Regions from separate parts of the Homo sapiens genome. Here all the other regions are linked to region 4. Evidence: promoter capture Hi-C in human tissues and cell types (Jung and others, 2019). All regions are on one chromosome and are shown on one strand. The core of a region is centred on a gene start or on the middle of the fragment in contact, and the rest is flanking DNA. Distances in the headings are between cores, read along the strand shown.

Region 1 (3,717 bases), core at 1,130-3,629, 300 kb after region 4:
TAGCTAGAACTATAGGCGCACACCACCATGGCTGGCTAATTTTTAAATTATTTGTACAGACGGGATCTCATTATGTTGCCCAGGCTGGTCTTCAACTCCTGAGCTCAAGCGATCTGGGAAGCCTGCGCTTCTCAGATTCACTACTGGGATTACAGGCATGAGTCACTGTGCTTGGCATGTTATCTAAAATCCTTAAAAAGTTTTTTCATTTTTTCACCTGAAACTTGGTTTAAAGAGCCTTTCCCTAAACTATATAAAAACCAAACACCAATAAAGAAGTTTTTGTTTTCAATGACTTAGTGCTGCTATCCAATGCCCTATTTGCTTACAACATTAAAAGCTATTTATCATACTATGGCAAAATGAATTTATAAGCAGCAAAATAACTTCTGACTCATGAGCTGGGTAAACATAAACGTTTTAGCATACTAAAAACATCCCAACCAAACTGGCGTGTTTTTTTTTTTTTTTTAAACGCATTTCCCTAATAGGGAGGGAAATTCTGATCCCTGGAAGCACAGGAGAGTGGGACATGGCCTCTTTCTCACCTCCTCTCACCTACTCCTCTTTGGGAGAAGGAGGAACTCATCTAATAGATGAGATTAGGGAAAAGGAATGAGCATGTTGGGATTGACTTCATCAATATTTGTTCTTTTGCCCTGAGAAGTGCATTCTGGTTTGTCTGTGGCTGTTCAATTCAGTGGCAAGGCATTAGCAGCCCAACTTGCCTAATTCATTCCACATTTTTATTTATTTATTTATTTATTTATTTATTTGAGATGGAGTCTCGCTCTGTTGCCAGGCTGGAGTGCAGTGGTGTGATCTGGGCTCACTGCAAGCTCCACCTCCCGGGTTCAAGCGATACTCCTGTCTCAGCCTCCTGAGTAGCTGGGACTACAGGTGCGTGCCACCATGCCCAGCTCATTTTTTGTATTTTTAGTAGAGACGGTGTTTCACCATGTTGGTCAGGATGGTCTTGAACTCTAGACCTCGTGGTCTGCCTGCCTCGGCCTCCCAAAGTGCTGGGATTACAGGCATGAACCACCACGCCCGGCCCATTCTACATTTTTAATCAGCCTGATCAGTAGTAAGACTGTCTCCTTTTCCACAATTTTACACCTAAAAGAGAAAGAAAGATATATTCCCAAACTCCTTTACTACATACATATTTTATAAAGGTAACAATGCTAAAAGAGCTAAGTGATTATTACAATTCATACAGAGACTATTAATTTGTTATACTATTTGAAGCAATTTTAACAATATGCTATTAAAGAATTTTTTTTTTTTTGAGGCAGAGTCTTGCTCTGTTGCCCAGGCTGGAGTGCTTGGCATGATCTCGGCTCACCACAACCTCCACCTCCCAGGTTCAAGCGATTCTCCTGCCTCGGCCTCTTGAGTAGCTGGGACTATAGGTTGCGCCCCCACGCGCAGCTAATTTTTGTATTTTTAGTAGAGATGGGGTTTCACTATGTTGGCCAGGCTGGTCTTGAACTCCTGACCTAGTGATCAGCCTGCTTTGGCCTCCAAAGTGCTGAGATTACAGGCATGAACCACTGGACCCGGCCAAAGAATTATTTACAAGCTGCCTGCTACACCTTCAGGAAGCTTCCCTTTCCTAGCCCTGAGTCCTCTGTATTTCTTGGGCTGCTCTCACAGACTTCTGAAAGACCCAGGTCACTGGAAGAGCTCCTGGACTTGATTCTATGTACCAAGATGAACTGCCATCACTGCAAGCACTTGGCTTCTGAAAAATTTCATGTTATTTTGAGAAAAATTCACTTGTTACTAAAAAAAATTCATATTGAACTAATATATAGCTGTTTAACACATGAGGATACACATTTGAGGATATATACTTAGGGGTTAATTTTGAGATACGAACCCACATGATGGGAGGAAACCTTCTCATTATACAAATGAGCACAAAAACTCAGTCAATTCTTTGCTTTAAGAAAAACAAATTCTAAGATCCTTGAACACTCCCACACTAAGCATGCTAAACAAAACATGTTAATCCAACGACTAGAAACCCACAGTCTGTTATCCTACAGATATTCTCTTTAAATTCAAATTCCCCAGAAGTCACAAATTTGGGGTTATTTTTCCATTGATGTTTATTGACAAGCTCATCTTCAAGGAAGAATTTGGCCTTAAGTGTAAGCAAAACATACTCAACAATCAGCAAATCTATTCAGAACATATTTTCAATTCACAACACCGGGAACTGTTTGCCCTCTGAATGATAGCCTTAACACAAAGAGGAAAAACAAGTGAACTAAACTACTGAAATGATCATTCCTTCATCCGAAACTCAGAGACCCAACACTAATGTCCAGCTAATACTGTTGACTGTTTCCTGACCACACTGCAAATGGCTGATTTTTACTGGTTTTATTGGGTGAACTCAAGGAATTTTTGCAAAAGGAATAACAAGTCTAAATGCAGCCCAAAACATAAACAGGAATACTTACTGAAACCCACATACATGCAAATAGCTGAGGGAATACATTTACCACAAAAATCCGATCTAAAAATTCTAACGTTACCTTTACAAGTTAAAACCTTTAGCATCAGCTCCCAGCTAAAACTGAGGCCAGGAGAATTTTGCATATCTTCCTCTCTCTGTTTTGGTGGAATAAAGTATCCTTGAACCAGTAAATAAACCCTATAGGTAGGAATCAAGCTAAAAATAATCATTACTGACCTAATGTTTTGAGTAAAAACCTAGTAAGAGGAATTCTGCGAGGGTTAGCACTTGCCACATATTAGAAGTTATGGCTGTGGTATTAAAATGGCTCTAGAAGCCTCACACATCAGAAATCTACCTAAAAGAGCTGAAGATGAAATGAAGTTAACAAACCTAAAGTGTAAACTGTAGTTGGCATATACTAGGGCCTCAAAAATGGTTTTCACTAATTAATGATAATAAAATATGATAGTAAATACCAAGTAATACAACTGCACAAGCTTTCTGGAGGTGGTGCAAGTGTAAAGTACCACTCTGGGGTGGGATTCTGTACTCAGATCGACAAAAGAGCACCTATAGATGACTGGGGTGAGGTTAAGAGGTAAGCTCTTTTGAGATATTACTGCAGAGTTGTGAACAGAGCCGAAAATGATCATCTAGGAAGTGAAAAATAAAGCAAGTGAAAGGTGTGGAGAATCATGCAAGGAAAAATAAAAGACTGATAAATTGGGCACCTGGAGTTAGAATGCAGGGCCACAGAGAAGCACAAGGGTGCCAGGCCTTCTTTATCAAATAAAACCCAGGGCTGAACTTAGTGCAGCAATCCCGATCAGACTCCACAATGCAAGGCCCCTAAGGAGAGCTGATTCTATCACCCTGTAGCTCAGCGGTGTGTTTGATTGCTCTCAGGTTTGGCACCTCTATGTCTTCTCTTACCAGTTAGTTGGTTGAAACTGTAATGATATAAAACCTTAACAGGATGATCCTCACCAGGTCTCAGGAAAATGCAGGTGGAATGTCAAATCACTCACAGGGAATACTAGCAGTTAATGAGAGCTATGTTTAGAATCTTGTAGCAAGGTGGAAGCTGCAGTTCCACATGAAATAAAAATAGTTGGCACTTTCAGGATTTTGACCATTCAACTGAAGGGCAGTCAAAACATCAGCTGAGGCCGGGCATGGTGGCTCACACCTGTAATCCCAGCACTTTGGGAGGCCGAGGTGGGTGGATCACGAGGTCAGGAGAT
Region 2 (3,659 bases), core at 290-2,789, 280 kb after region 4:
TGTGAAGAAGGACATGTTTGCTTCCCCTTCCGCCATGATTCTAAGTTTCCTGAGGCCTCCCCAGCCATCCTGAACTGTGAACCTCTTTCCTTTATAAATTACCCGGTCTCCAGCAGTTCTTTATAGCAGTATGAGAAAGGAGTAGTTCGGGTGCGGTGGCTCATGCCTATAATCCCAGAACTTTGGGAGGCCAAGGCAGGTGGATCAGCTGAGGTCATAAGTTTGAGACCAGCCTGGTCAACACGGTGAAACCTCGTCTCTACTAAAAATACAAAAATTAGCTGGGCGTGGTGGCGGCTGCCTGAAATCCCAGCTACTCGGGAGGCTGAGGCAAGAGAATCGCTTGAACCCAGGTGGTGGAGCCCTGCACTCCAGCCTGGGTAATAGAGTGAGACTCTGTCTCAAAAACAAACAAACAAACAAACAAAAACGAAAACAGACTAATACCCAAAATGTATACATTAAGAAATAGTTCCCATTTCAGTAGGTGTACCTAAAAAAAAAAAAAAATTCAAAGCATGTTATTTTAAAATATGGCAACTATCTGAAGAAACAGTTAAGAAATCTTGTCAAGAGTAAGCTTTGGGACTAGAAAACACTAGGGCAGAAGACTTACTTTCATTGTAAGCCTTTTGTTTCTTTAGCCACTGTGTATTCTTTTTTAAAAATAAAAGTTGATAGTCAAAGATCTTTCGTTTTCTCTGTATTTTAATTACATTTCTCCAAGTACACATTGTGCTTCCTGTCACTGCGCATTTAAAATTACTGTTTCTCCTTTTGTAATGCGATTCTCTTCCATTTCTTCTTTTTTATTTTCGAGGTAGAGTCTTGCTCTGTTGCCCGGGCTGGAGTGCAATGGCATCATCTCAGCTCACTGCAGCCTTGACCTCCCGGGCTCGAGCGATCCTACCACCTCAGCTTCCCAAGAAGCTGGGATACAGGCACAAGCCACCACACTCAGCTAATTTTTGTAGTTTTTTTGTGGAGACTGGGTTTCACCATGCTACCCAGGCTTTCCATTTCTATAAATCGAAATCTTATCCTTTAAGGCCACCTCCAAATTCGACCGCTTCCATGAAACTTCCCAAATCTCCCACAGGACTCAATTGTTCCAGTAGTGATACATATTCCACCTTTTATATTCTTTTTTGTTGTTGTTTGTTTGTTTGAGACAGGGTTTCACTCTGTTGCCCAAGCTAGAACGCAGTGGCACACTCATGGCTCACTGCAGTCTCAACTTCCTAGTCTCAATTGATCCTCCCACCTCAGCCACCCGAGTAGCAAGGATGACAGGTGGGTGCTGGCTAATTTTTTTTTTTTTTTTTGTAAAGATAGGGGTCTCGGCCAGGTGTGGTGGCTCACGCCTGTAATCCTAGCACTTTGGGAGGCCAAGGCGGGTGGATCACAAAGTCAGGAGATCGAGATCATCCTGGCTAACACGGTGAAACCCCGTATCTACTAAAAATAAAAATAAAAATAAAAATTAGCCGGGCGTTGTGGCACGTGACTGTAGTCCCAGCTACTTGGGAGGCTGAGGCAGGAGAATCACTTGAACCCGGGAGGTGGAGGTTGCAGTGAGCCGAGATTACGTCACTGCACTCCAGCCTCAGTGAAAGATGAGACTCTGTCTCAAAAAAAAAAAAAAAAAAAAAAAAGATAGGGGTCTCACTGTGTTGCCCAGGCTGGTCTCAAACTCCTGGCCTCAAGCAATCCTCCTGCCTCGGGCTCCCAAAGTGCCAGGATTACAGGCGTGAGCCGCCATGCCCAGCCTCACCTTCTATATTTTTGTTAGCTGTCTGTTGATTGTAAACTCCTTATGCACAATATTTTTACGTCAGGGCATGTAACAAGCACTTAATTAATATCAACTTTATTAAATTTGTCATAAAAATCAAGAGGAGCAGAGGAAATGGGACTAAGGAGGGTGCCATCAGTGACATTAAGTGCATCAGAAAGGTGGAGCATATTAGAGCTAGACATTGTATGTGGCCAACGGTTTGAGCATTTTTTTTTTTTTGAGACGGAGTCTCGCACTGTTGCCCAGGCTGGAGTGCAGTGGCACAATCTCCGCTCACTGCAACCTCCACCTCCCGGGTTCAAGTGATTCTCTTGCCTCAACCTCCTGAGTAGCTGGGATTACAGGCACACACCACCATGCCCGACTAATTCTTTTGTATTTTTAGTAGAGATGGTGTTTCGCTATGTTGGCCAGGCTGGTCTCGAACTCATGACCTCAGGTGATCCACTCACTTGAGGATTGCAGGCATGAGCCACCGTGCCTGGCCTGAGCATTTTGTTAGTTGTTCTCTTCCAATCCCTGAGGAGGTTTGATCGACTGATGGGATTAACAGCTAGTGTAGAAGTTAGAGGGTGATGAGCTAAAATTTTGGGGAACAATCTGACTGTTTAAAGGGAACTACAATAATTACAAAATAGAGTCAGGTGTGAGACACTTGTGCCAGGCACATTTTGTGACAGAAGGATACAAGTCTGTAGGGAGAGAGAAATGGAAGATGTTGGAGAGATGGAAAGTTCTGTCTTTTGGTGGGAAAGGTGGGATACAGAAAATGAATGAATTCTATAATCACGGAAATATATAAAGACAGTAATAAAATGCTGTCTAATGTATTGTGATTGCTTTGAGCTATTTGGGAGGCCGAAGTGGTAGGATGGCTTGCATCCAAGAGTTTGAGACAGGCCTGGGCAACATAGTGAGACTCTGGCTCTACAAAAAATAAAAAATTAACCAGACGTGGTGCTGCTCACCCTGTTGTCCCAGCTACTCGGAGGCTGCAGTGAGCCGTGATTGTGCCACTGCACTTAGCCTGAGCAACAGAGTGAGACCCCATATGGGTGCGGGTGTCTGTGAGTGTGGGTGCGTGGTTGTGATTGTGGTGTGGGTGTCTGTGGGTATGGGTGTGAGTGTGGTTGTGATTGTGTGGGTGTGGGTGTGAGTGGTGATTGTGTGTGGGTGTGGGTGTGAGTGTGGTTGTGATTGTGTGTGGGTGTGGTTGTGATTGTGTGTGGGTGTGTGGTTGTGATTGTGTGGGTGTGGGTGTGAGTGGTTGTGATTGTGTGGGTGTGGGTGTGAGTGTGGTTGTGATTGTGTGTGGGTGTGGGTGTGAGTGGTTGTGATTGTGTGGGTGTGTGGTTGTGATTGTGTGGGTGTGGGTGTGAGTGGTTGTGATTGTGTGGGTGTGGGTGTGAGTGTGGTTGTGATTGTGTGTGGGTGTGAGTGGTTGTGATTGTGTGTGGGTGTGGGTGTGTGTGGTTGTGATTGTGTGTGGGTATGGGTGTGAGTGGTTGTGATTGTGTGTGGGTGTGAGTGTGGTTGTGATTGTGTGTGGGTGTGTGTGGTTGTGATTGTGTGTGGGTGTGTGTGGTTGTGATTGTGTGGGTATGGGTGTGAGTGGTTGTGATTGTGTGTGGATATGGGTGTGAGTGTGGTTGTGATTGTGCGTGGGTGTGGGTGTGTGTGGTTGTGATTGTGTGTGGGTGTGGGTGTGTGTGGTTGTGATTGTGGGTGTGGGTGTGAGTGGTTGTGATTGTGTGTGGGTGTGGGTGTGTGTGGTTGTGATTGTGTGGGTGTGGGTGTGAGTGTGGTTGTGATTGTGTGTGGGTGTGGGTGTGAGTGGTTGTGATTGTGTGGGTGTGTGGTT
Region 3 (3,355 bases), core at 704-3,203, 330 kb before region 4:
TTAATAAATATCTCATCATAGGTCATCTCATGAATTTTGAGGTTCCATCATAACTGAAGTCTACATTCATTATACTTTTGTATTTTGAGTCTAACTGACCCTAAGATCATTCTGTAGCATCTCCAAAATATCTTTAGCATTTAGTCTTTGTCCTAAAGCATTAAGTTGTATTTTGTACTTTGGCTTCTAAGTAGATGTTAAAATTATCCAAGGAGTACTTTTTTAAAGGACTGTTTAGAGGTTATGATCGTGAATTGTTTAGTAATTTATATCTTAATGTTACAGGGATCAAATGTCTTTCCTTCTTTGGTCAAAAGTTGGAAGTTTCCTGGCTGTTGGAACTGTTAAAGGAAATTTGCTTATTTATAATCATCAGACATCTCGAAAGATTCCTGTCCTTGGTAGGTGATAGCTGGAAACACTGCTAAATATTTGAGATGCTCTACCTCAATGTAAATTCTGCCGCCTCAGGTTTCCCTGATCTTGCAATGGAAATTTTGCAGTACAAACCCCCTCCCCATGTCCCTCCGCAAGTCTTACATTTAGCTAAACATGAAGATCCCTGTTCACTGCTTACTAAGAACTTGCCAGGGTACATAGAATAGATTGAGTTAAAGTCAGGCTGTGCCTTTCGCATCAGGACATTAACAGCATGGCTTCCATTTGTCCTTTCCCACCCAGACTGTACCTCTGGACGAGGAATAGCTCATACACATATGAACACATTTTGATAATATGTGCTATTTTTGTTATTAATTTTAGTTAATTTAGTTGCATTATAATATGTGGTAATTTTAGTCCACATGGTAGATTAAAACATTTACTGCTTGAGTCCGTGGTGGCTCACGCCTGTAATCCCAGCACTTTGGGAGGCCAAGATGGGTGGATCACGAGGTCAGGAGTTCAAGACCAGCCTGGCCAAGATAGTGAAACCCCATCTCTACTAAAAATACAAAAAATTAGCCGGGCACAGTGGCAGCCGCCTGTAATCCCAGCTACTCGGGAGGCTGAGGCAGGAGAATCACTTGAACTCGGAGGGTGGATGTTGCAGTGAGCAGAGATCGCGCCACTGCACTGCAGCCTGGGTGACAGAGTGAGACTTCATCTCAAAAAAAAAAAACAAAAAAACAAACAAACAAAAAAAAACATTTACTGCTTGGATAGAAGCAAGATTTCTAATTCTGACCCCTCACCTTCTCCAAATCCTAGTTAAATCTAGATGTGGACTATGAGTTCCATTTGCCTCAGGATATGCAGCCAGAGGGTGTTTTTATGTCCCTCCTTGTTTGACCTTCTTGTTTTGGCTCTTTGATTCCCCCAACCTCTGGTCACTTGGCATCTGCCCTCTGAATAGCCAAGAAGAAACATCTATTCTTGTCAATTATTGTAACATCATTGTGATGAATGGTAGAACCTAGTGGGCTTAATTGCATCCAGGTGGCCAGGAAAAGTATAACTTACTGCTAATAAAGGAATTACACTCTGGAGATCATGGCACCCACAGATACTTGAGAAAGTGCCCTTCCATTCAAGACGATCATTTCAAATTAGTTTTACATATATGTATCTCTTTAATGTTAACATTAATTTTGGGTGCTATAGCTAAACATTAATGTCATTGAACTATTTGAAAAGTTAAACTAAATTTTTTTAAGTTACAAATATCAACTTTAAATTAGTTTGTCTATTAACTGTTATTATTGGTGTTAAGACTAACTTGATTTCTGAGCACTGGAAGCAAAAGGGCTTTGAGGTATATAAGGAGGAGGAGGAAGAAGAGATTTTCTTCTCCCTTTCTTGGGTATAGAAAGATGTCTTTGGCATCTTCCTACTTGTCATTGTATAGTCTTTTCCCCTTCCTAATGCCTGTTTCTTTGGACACCCAGTTCCATTTAACACCCAAGTCCCTTAATCTATGATCAGCAAAATCTCTGTAGCCCCAGTCTCTTCTCTGAATATTTCCTTCACTTTTGTGTTCTGGTCTCCTGATATGAAATACTGTCTATATCCTGAAAACTCCCAAATTTATATCTTTTCCACACTGTAGACTCATACCTCCAACGCTTACTCAACATCTTCAGTGAGGTGTCTAGTATACACTTCAAATTTAGTATCTCCAAAACCTTCTTGACTCACAGCTTTGCCTTCCACCATTGTTGGCATTCCATTCTTCCAAATTGTTAGGCCAATGTTTAGGGCCATCCTTGACTCTTTTCTTTCTCATACTCTCCATAACTAATTTGTCAGAAAATCTTACAGACTCAACCTCCAAATATCTCCAGAATCCAGCCGGTCTCACCATCTCTACTGCTGCCACCATGGTGTGGTCTCAGACATTTTCTACCTTAATTTCTGCAGTCTCCTCTTTACTGGCCTCTCCATTTCAACTCTTGCCCCACTCTAGAATCTTCTCAACCCAGAGGCCAGAATGAGCCCTCTGCTCAGAACTCTTCAATGGTTTCTGTCTCACCCAGGATAAAAGCAAAAGGCCTTAAAATGGCCAGAACAAATTTTCCATAATCTGGCCTTCGCAACCTCTCTGACCTCATCTCATGTTCTTCCCTCCTCATTTGTCTGCTCCAACCACATTGTCCTTGCTGAGCCTCTAACACACTAGGCAAACTCCTGCCTTGGGGTCTACTCACTTAAAGCATTCATTTAATACCTGCTTTCTGCATAGGTACTGTATTAGATTCTTTGAGGGTACGAAGAATAAAATGAATGTGGTCTCTGCTCTCAGTAACAGCTAAAATAGCTGACACTGTGATAGCATTTCATATGTACCTTGCACTTTGGTCAGTGCTTTAATTCAATTGATCCTCAACCCTATGAGAGGTCCTACTATTATTCCCAATTTATGGATGAAGTGAGTAAGGAATAGAAAGGTTGGCTGGGCATGGTGGCTCATCCCTGTAATTCCAGCATTTTGGAAGGCCGAGGCAGGCGGGTCACTTGAGGTCAGGAGTTCGAAACCAGCCAACATGGTGAAACCCCGTCTCTACAAAAAATACAAAAAAATTAACCAGGTGTGGTAGTGGGCTCCTGTAATCCCAGCTACTTGGGAGGCTGAGGCAGGAGAATTGCTTGAACCCAGGAGGCAGAAGCTGCAGTGAGCTGAGATTACACCACTGCACTCCAGCCTGGGAAACAGAGCAAGACTCTATCTCAAAAAAAAAAAAAAAAAAAAGAAAGAAAAAGAAAAGAAAAGGTTAAGTAACTTACGCAAGGTTTTTTCAGTAGGTAGTGGAGCTAAGATTCAAAGCTAGGCAGTCTGGCTCCAGAATCTATACACTTAACTATTCTTCTCATTAGTAGAATTACCCTTGGGACTCTTGAGGATTTATCTATCCCAAGA
Region 4 (3,229 bases), core at 164-2,663:
AACAAATGCCCTACTACAATCTAAACGGAATATAATCCTTCTAGCCCCAGCTCTCTACAGCATATTTTGCATAGGTACCCAGGAGCTAACGATGGGCATTATAGTTGGATACATCAGCTTCACACATTTTAATCATTTCCAGAAATTAAACAGTAAAAGATGCCTGACCAGAGAAAAATATTTAATCAGTAAGAAAGCCGGTATTAATTTTATGTCTAAGGGTTATCATGTAAAGCTGTGGAAGTAAACAAGAAGGAAGATGGATTATGCTTATCCAGTTATAGATTTTGTTAGAAAAAGGAGTACAGCAACGGGAGAAGAAATGAGATCTTTTCAATCAGGGTTGTCTACCCCTTACCTTAAACTGGATCCTGGCCACTAATAAGCACATCTCAGAGCAGACAGTCAGCTCTTTCATTTCCAGAACCCCCCTGAAGAAAGACTACTGTTCTCCATTTCTTAAGGGATTTGAAGAAACTCAAAGGCTCACTGTGTCTTTGAGGTCTGTCGATAGACAGCTACTGCTCTGTATGCCCATGAATAGATCCCTACCAGCGAACCCCTCTTTTCTCTATACTAGAATTCCTAACCCTACTAAGTTATCTTCCTATATATTTATAGGACGTATAATTTTTCAAGATCTCACACAAACATGGTCTCCCGAGGCACCCAGGAAAGGCCTTCCCCGACATCAAACAGAGCAATTCTGTGGTGTAGGGGGCCAACAATGGATTCCAGGACATCCCGGACAGATATCACGGCAGTCTTAGTATTTTGCTCTCAAGAGGGCTTTCTGGCTTCGTTTCTCTTTGGTTTCTTAAGAGGGGCGGCATGAGAAAAGCAGGAGCCCCTCAGGTGAGCAGACTCTTAAACACAAACAAAAGACTACGACTCTGCGGCCAAAATGAGGTCCCCAACGAGAGAACCGCTTCCTGTGGTGGGCGTTCGGCTTTGGAGGCGGCAGGGAAATCTCATCCAAGTCAGGAAAGTGGGTAAAGGCAGAAAGAGAAGGGGCTGGAAGACTCACGAGTCTTGAATAAGAAGCCCAGACGACCACATCCCCAGGACAGCAGTTCCAAAATGCGGTTCCCGCCCTAAGCCCCAAAGAGACGAAGGTCGTGAGACGGGAAGCCCGGGACCCAGCGCAGCGAGCGACCGGGAGCAGCGCGCACACCCCAGCCCCGCTCCCTCCACATCCCGCCCAGACCTGGGAGCATCCCGCCCGGGCGGCGGGGCCAGCCTGGGAGCGGCGCTTACCCACTTCCCAGCAGCAAGCGCAGGGACCGCTCCTATCCCGATCGTTCGGACAGCACCTTCCTACGGGCCGCGCCGCCGCAGCTTCTCCACCCGCGCCCCGCTCGATCTGAGCTCCCTCTCGGCGCACGCCCCTCCCTCAGGCTGCCACGCGTTACACTCTGAGTCCCGGGCCTGAGCCCGTATTTAAAGGCTTTTGCCTGCGAAGGCGGAGGCTTCATTCCCCCGCAGCCAGGCCCTCCTGGATTCTGCCCTCAGCTGCTTCCTAGCTCCCCCTCCCGCTACACAAGGCCCAGGGCCAGGTCCCTATTTCCTTCACGGCTCAGGGGCGGGGAGACTGGGGCTGGTCCTGGCTGGGAGGGCCTGCCCCGCCCCTGGCCTAGCTGGGCAAATCCGCTTTGGCCAGCTCAGCGGCTCCGCCCCTACCGCGAGCGGCGCTGGGCGGGGCTGCGTGCGTGGCGTGTCCGCTGGACCAGGGGACGGGGGCGCGCCGCAGGTGTAGGAGCTTTGCGCGCCTACCTGGCGGTCGTGGGTCGAGGAGGGGTCAAGAATTGTTGTCTAGCAGCCCTCTCCCCGCTGCCCTGTCCTGGCCGAGGCAAAGGCCGCGTGCGCTCCGCGTCTGCCAGGCTTTAGGGCTGCGCGGACACTGGGTGGGTGGTGGGCCGAGGCGACCGGAAGGTCCTGGCCGCCTTTCCGGTCTCCTCAGCACCCTGGAGCGCCGCCCTCGGGTTTCGGTCTCCTGGATCTGCGGGTCGGTCTCGGCGGGCGGATTACTCCTCGCCCACAACCTCGAGGCCCCGGGGTCAACCGCGCCCTCCGGGCCGGCAACCCAGGGTTTAGTCAGATTCCTCCTGACCCACCGCTTCTGGGAAAGAGGCGCCTCCCGTCAGGAGGATGCTGAGTTCCTCATGACTGGACCAGTGAGTGTCCACTCCCTGGTCCCTGGCGAGAGAGGCGGGACCCCCACGCCCTCCTGGCGCTCTTTGCAGAGATGTTCCTCAGGCCCAATCCGGGATTTGGGATGTCTGTGCGTGCTGTGGAGCAGAGAGTTTGCAACATGTAAGTGCCGTGCGTGAGGAAGAGTAAAATTAACCTATGGAGCCTGCTCATTTTTAATGTGGAGGGCAGTTCCGTTCCTTTCTTTCGCCGCTTCGAGGTCATTTTAACACTCAAATCTAACATATAAGAAAAAAAGCCAGGCATAATCATGGCCTTTTATTTCCCTCATTAAGGATTACATCAGGTGACATAAGCCATTTTAACATACATCATGAAGAAAGTGATTAGTAATTTATAAAGGCACATTAAAATACCATATAAATTACGGTTTTCTTGATAGGATCATGATGGTGACTTTAAGAAAGTGGTTGAATGTGGATGAAACAGTTTGCTGTGGATTGTAGCACGTGTGGCAGGATATGTAGGCTTGTTGGTTGGTTGTTTTGAGACGGAGTCTCCCTCTTGTCGCCGAGGCTGGAGTGCAGTGGTGCGATCTCGGCTCACCTCAACCTCCTCCTTCCAGATTCAAACGATTCTCCTGCCTCAGCCTCCCGAGTAGCTGGGATTACAGGCGCCCACAACCATGCCCGGCTAATTTTTATATTTTTAATAGAGACCGGGTTTTGCTATGTTGACCAGGCTGGTCTCAAACTCCTGACCTCAGGTGATCCGCCCGTCTCGGCCTCCCAAAGTGCTGGGATTACAGGTGTGAGCCACTGTGCCTGGCCAGTATATGTAGGCTTTCTGCATTCTATGCAGTTCAGTTCATTCATCCAACAAATATTTAATGCCTGTTGTGTGTCAGACGTTATCCTAAAGACTGAAGATGCAAAAGGGATTAAGACTCAATTCCTTTGGCCAGGCACGGTGGTTTACGCCTGTAATCCCAGCACTTTGGGAGGCCATAGCGGGCGGATCACCTGAGGTCAGGAGTTCCAGACCAGCCTGGCCAACATGGTGAAACCCCGGCTCCACT
Region 5 (3,311 bases), core at 460-2,959, 300 kb before region 4:
AGCGTTCCTCTTTCTCCTCAGCCTTGCCAGCATCTATTGTTTCTTGACTTAATAATCGCGATTCTGACTGGTGTGCAATGGTATCTCAATATTATCATTTCAATGTGTAATTGAATATAAAAAAAGTAATGAGATATTTTACAATCTTTTTTTCATGCGAACTCTCTGTGTAGTTTACACTTAAACATATCTCAATTCGGACTTGGCACATTTCAGTGCTTAATAGGTACATCTGGCTACATGTAGATGTTATAATAGCAACTACTATGTTAAATAACACAGCTTTGTAGTATGAATTATTATTTGCAAGAATTTTATATTTCATTCTCATTTTGAGAGTAGGATGAGGCAGATATTTTTCAGTTCCCTATTCAGGATATATACAAGCCTACCTGCCTGAGTTCACAGGACTTATATGGACTGATTTTTGTAAACAGCTTATTTAGTATAATATTACAGTCAGCCCACCCTATCTGTGGGTTCCTCATCCATGGATTCAGCCAACTGTAGATCAAAAATATTCAGGGGAAAAATGGATGGTTTTGTCTGTGCTAAACCTGTGCAGAAAACTTTTGTTGTCTATATTCCCCATACAGTATGACAACTATTTACATAGCATTTATATTGTATTAGGTATTATAAGTAATCTAGAGATGATTTAAAGTATAAGGGAGGGTGTACATAGTTTATACACATATTACACCATTTTATTCAGGGATTTGGCCATCTGTGGGTTTTGCTATCCGTGGGAGATCCTGGAACCAATCCCTCATGGATGTTGAGGGATGATTGTATATTTATATTTGTTGACATGCATTTTAGAGAAGCTTTTGAAATAAAGTATCCCTAGTGTAATTTACTTCAATCATGTGAGTTAATTTGTTTCTTAATACCCACTATTATCAAATACTCAGTATTATTGAAAAATTTCTAAACACAAGTACAAGTGTGTTCGTAGTTTAAATTTCTGTCATCCTGAGCAGCTTTAATTTTTTTTCCTTAACCTGAAGCTTTGTGTCTAGACTTGTGGGTTCTCCTACAAATTTGCCAGATTTTAGATCAAACCTTGGCTTTTCCAAATAACTATAGTTTTTTCAAGCCAGACCTAGGATAGGAATGGAAAAAGAAACTTTCTTTCCTGTTGTTGTTGGAGTGATGTTAGGTTGAATATGACTCAGTAAGCTAAGCCAGCTAAGGCTGCAAACAGGCTTCTACCACGGCAAATGATAATGATTCAAGTACAGACTTGGGGCAAATCTGTAAATTTTATTTTGTAGGTCAATGACGCTACCTATGAGATTCCAGATTTTTCACCAACCATTAAAGGTGTTCTTTGGGAAAACTGGCCAATGGATAAAGGTGTATTTATTGCTTATGATGATGATAAGGTGTACACTTATGTCTTTCACAAGGACACTATACAAGGTACTAAACCCCTTTTGTGTATATTCGCTGACAGATGAATTTCCCATTGCAGTAAAATTAAAACATTCTTTCTGATGTTTGTGCTGAGTATTAGCTTTCAGCATTGCGATGTCTGTTTTATAATGTAGGAGCCAAGGTTATTTTGGCTGGTAGCACCAAAGTTCCTTTTGCTCATAAACCTTTGCTGCTATATAATGGAGAGCTGACCTGCCAAACACAGAGTGGAAAAGTAAACAACATCTACCTTAGCACCCATGGCTTTCTCAGCAACTTAAAAGATACGGGGCCTGACGAACTGAGACCAATGCTGGCACAGAATTTAATGCTAAAGAGGTAGGCTTTCACACACTTCTTTTGGAACTTCTCATTTGCTTTTGTGATTTTAAAGGTCAAATCCTATAATTATTCTATCTTATTTTATTGCTTTATTCTTTATCCTTGCAAGAATTTTTTTTTTTTTTGTAAATGTAGAAGTACAAGTGCAGTTGTGCTACATGGATATAGTGCATATGGTGAAGTCTGGGCTTTTAATGTACCCATCACCAGAATAGTGAACACTGTACCCAGTGGGTAGTATTTTATCCCTCAACCCTGTCTCACCATCCCGCCTTTTGGAGTTGCCAGTATCTATTATTCCACCTGTATGTCCATGTGTACCCATTGTTTACCTCCCACTTCTAAGTGAGAACATGCAGTTTTTGACTTTGGGGCATTTCACTTAGGATAATGACCTCGAATTCCATCCATATTGCTGCAAAAGACATGATTTCATTTTTTTAATGGCTGAGTAGTATTCCATAGTGTGTATATCTATATATACACACCACTTTTTAAAATCCAGTCATCTGTTGATGGACACTTAAGTTGATTCCATGACTTTGCTATTGTGAATAGTGCTGCAGTAAACATATGAGTGCAGGTGTCTTTTTGATAAAATGTCAAATCCTATTCAATAGATGGAGATAACAGCACTTACCTTGTTCATTTCACAGGGATATTGTGAGGCTCAGATAAGATAGTCAGCTGTTTTTATTATGAGTACTTTATTACAAGAAAAGCCCTTAAGAACAAAACGGTTTCTAAGCTTCCAGAGAGCCTAGTTATTGGGAAATCCTAATAAAATAAACCTAATTATTTCAACAATATCTTGACTTCATCATAGTGAGGTTTGATTTTGCTTTGCTTATAATTTCCTTTTACTGTTTTTTTCTCTTATCTCCTAGAGCCACCGTGAATTCCTTTGACGTTCTAATTCTTCCGAGCCTCTCTTAAATGCTGCTGTTTATTGGGGTCTCATGAGTTTCCTTCTCTTCTTACTCTAATTATTCTTCCTGAGTGAATCTCCTCTGCTTAACATGGCTCAACATACCACCCATATGAAGCTGACTCTAAAATCTGTGTCTTTATCTTAAACCTGTACTTACAACTACCTTCCAGTCATGTGTCCTTGGAAGTCCATGAGCTCTTCAAACTTGCCCTTTCTAAAACTGAACTCATCAATTTCCACAGGCCCCTATTTTCCCTCACTGTAATCACACATGCACATGCCTTAACACACATATACACCAGCTCCTTTCCTCCTCCCGTGTTCCCTCATCTTTACCCAGGCCCTCACCTGGAATAATGTGTAATGTAACTAACCACTTCCTAACTGCTCTGTCTGCCAATAGCCTTGTAACGATCTCATCTGTTCTCCACACACTTTTGAAGATGTGATTTGATCCTCTTATTTCCCTGCTCAGGATCCTTCAGTGACTTTCTATTGCCTTTACAAACAAATCCATTCCTGGGGGACCTCTATGACCTACTAGGCACTTCATGATTTAACACCAGCTCAACTGTCTCCACTCAAGTCCCTCTCTGTTCCACTGGCTGCTGAAATTGCA

Evidence for each region. The method cuts DNA at HindIII sites, captures the fragments that hold promoters and counts their contacts. A contact is called where the count stands out against the background at its distance.
Region 1: a fragment that was not itself captured here is called in contact with the fragment with the promoter of UGDH in region 4 in 5 of the 25 tissues and cell types used here (H1 embryonic stem cells, IMR-90 fibroblasts, dorsolateral prefrontal cortex and 2 more).
Region 2: a fragment that was not itself captured here is called in contact with the fragment with the promoter of UGDH in region 4 in 1 of the 25 tissues and cell types used here (mesenchymal stem cells).
Region 3: a fragment that was not itself captured here is called in contact with the fragment with the promoter of UGDH in region 4 in 1 of the 25 tissues and cell types used here (hippocampus).
Region 5: a fragment that was not itself captured here is called in contact with the fragment with the promoter of UGDH in region 4 in 2 of the 25 tissues and cell types used here (bladder and stomach).

What each region holds. Positions count from the first base shown.
Region 1 is chr4:39,825,729-39,829,445 of GRCh38, forward strand. The region is part of intron 32 of PDS5A (PDS5 cohesin associated factor A); the gene reads right to left. Among named protein-coding and RNA genes, the nearest start is that of UBE2K, 130 kb to the left of the region's middle. The HindIII fragment of the contact is 5,783 bases long and covers 1-3,717 here.
Region 2 is chr4:39,809,854-39,813,512 of GRCh38, forward strand. No RefSeq gene overlaps it. Among named protein-coding and RNA genes, the nearest start is that of UBE2K, 110 kb to the left of the region's middle. The HindIII fragment of the contact is 6,292 bases long and covers 1-3,659 here.
Region 3 is chr4:39,194,259-39,197,613 of GRCh38, forward strand. It overlaps WDR19 (WD repeat domain 19), which reads left to right. Exons shown (of 37, transcript NM_025132.4): 5 at 286-401. Among named protein-coding and RNA genes, the nearest start is that of WDR19, 13 kb to the left of the region's middle. The HindIII fragment of the contact is 4,911 bases long and covers 1-3,355 here.
Region 4 is chr4:39,526,026-39,529,254 of GRCh38, forward strand. It overlaps UGDH (UDP-glucose 6-dehydrogenase), which reads right to left and starts at 1,414. Exons shown (of 12, transcript NM_003359.4): 1 at 1,258-1,414. It overlaps UGDH-AS1 (UGDH antisense RNA 1), which reads left to right and starts at 1,814. Exons shown (of 5, transcript NR_047679.1): 1 at 1,814-2,313. RefSeq lists silencers at 1,129-1,308, 1,559-1,858 and an enhancer at 2,239-2,298. The HindIII fragment of the contact is 14,033 bases long and covers 1-3,229 here.
Region 5 is chr4:39,226,933-39,230,243 of GRCh38, forward strand. WDR19 (WD repeat domain 19) reads left to right here. Exons shown (of 37, transcript NM_025132.4): 16 at 1,278-1,425; 17 at 1,554-1,758. Among named protein-coding and RNA genes, the nearest start is that of WDR19, 46 kb to the left of the region's middle. The HindIII fragment of the contact is 3,095 bases long and covers 163-3,257 here.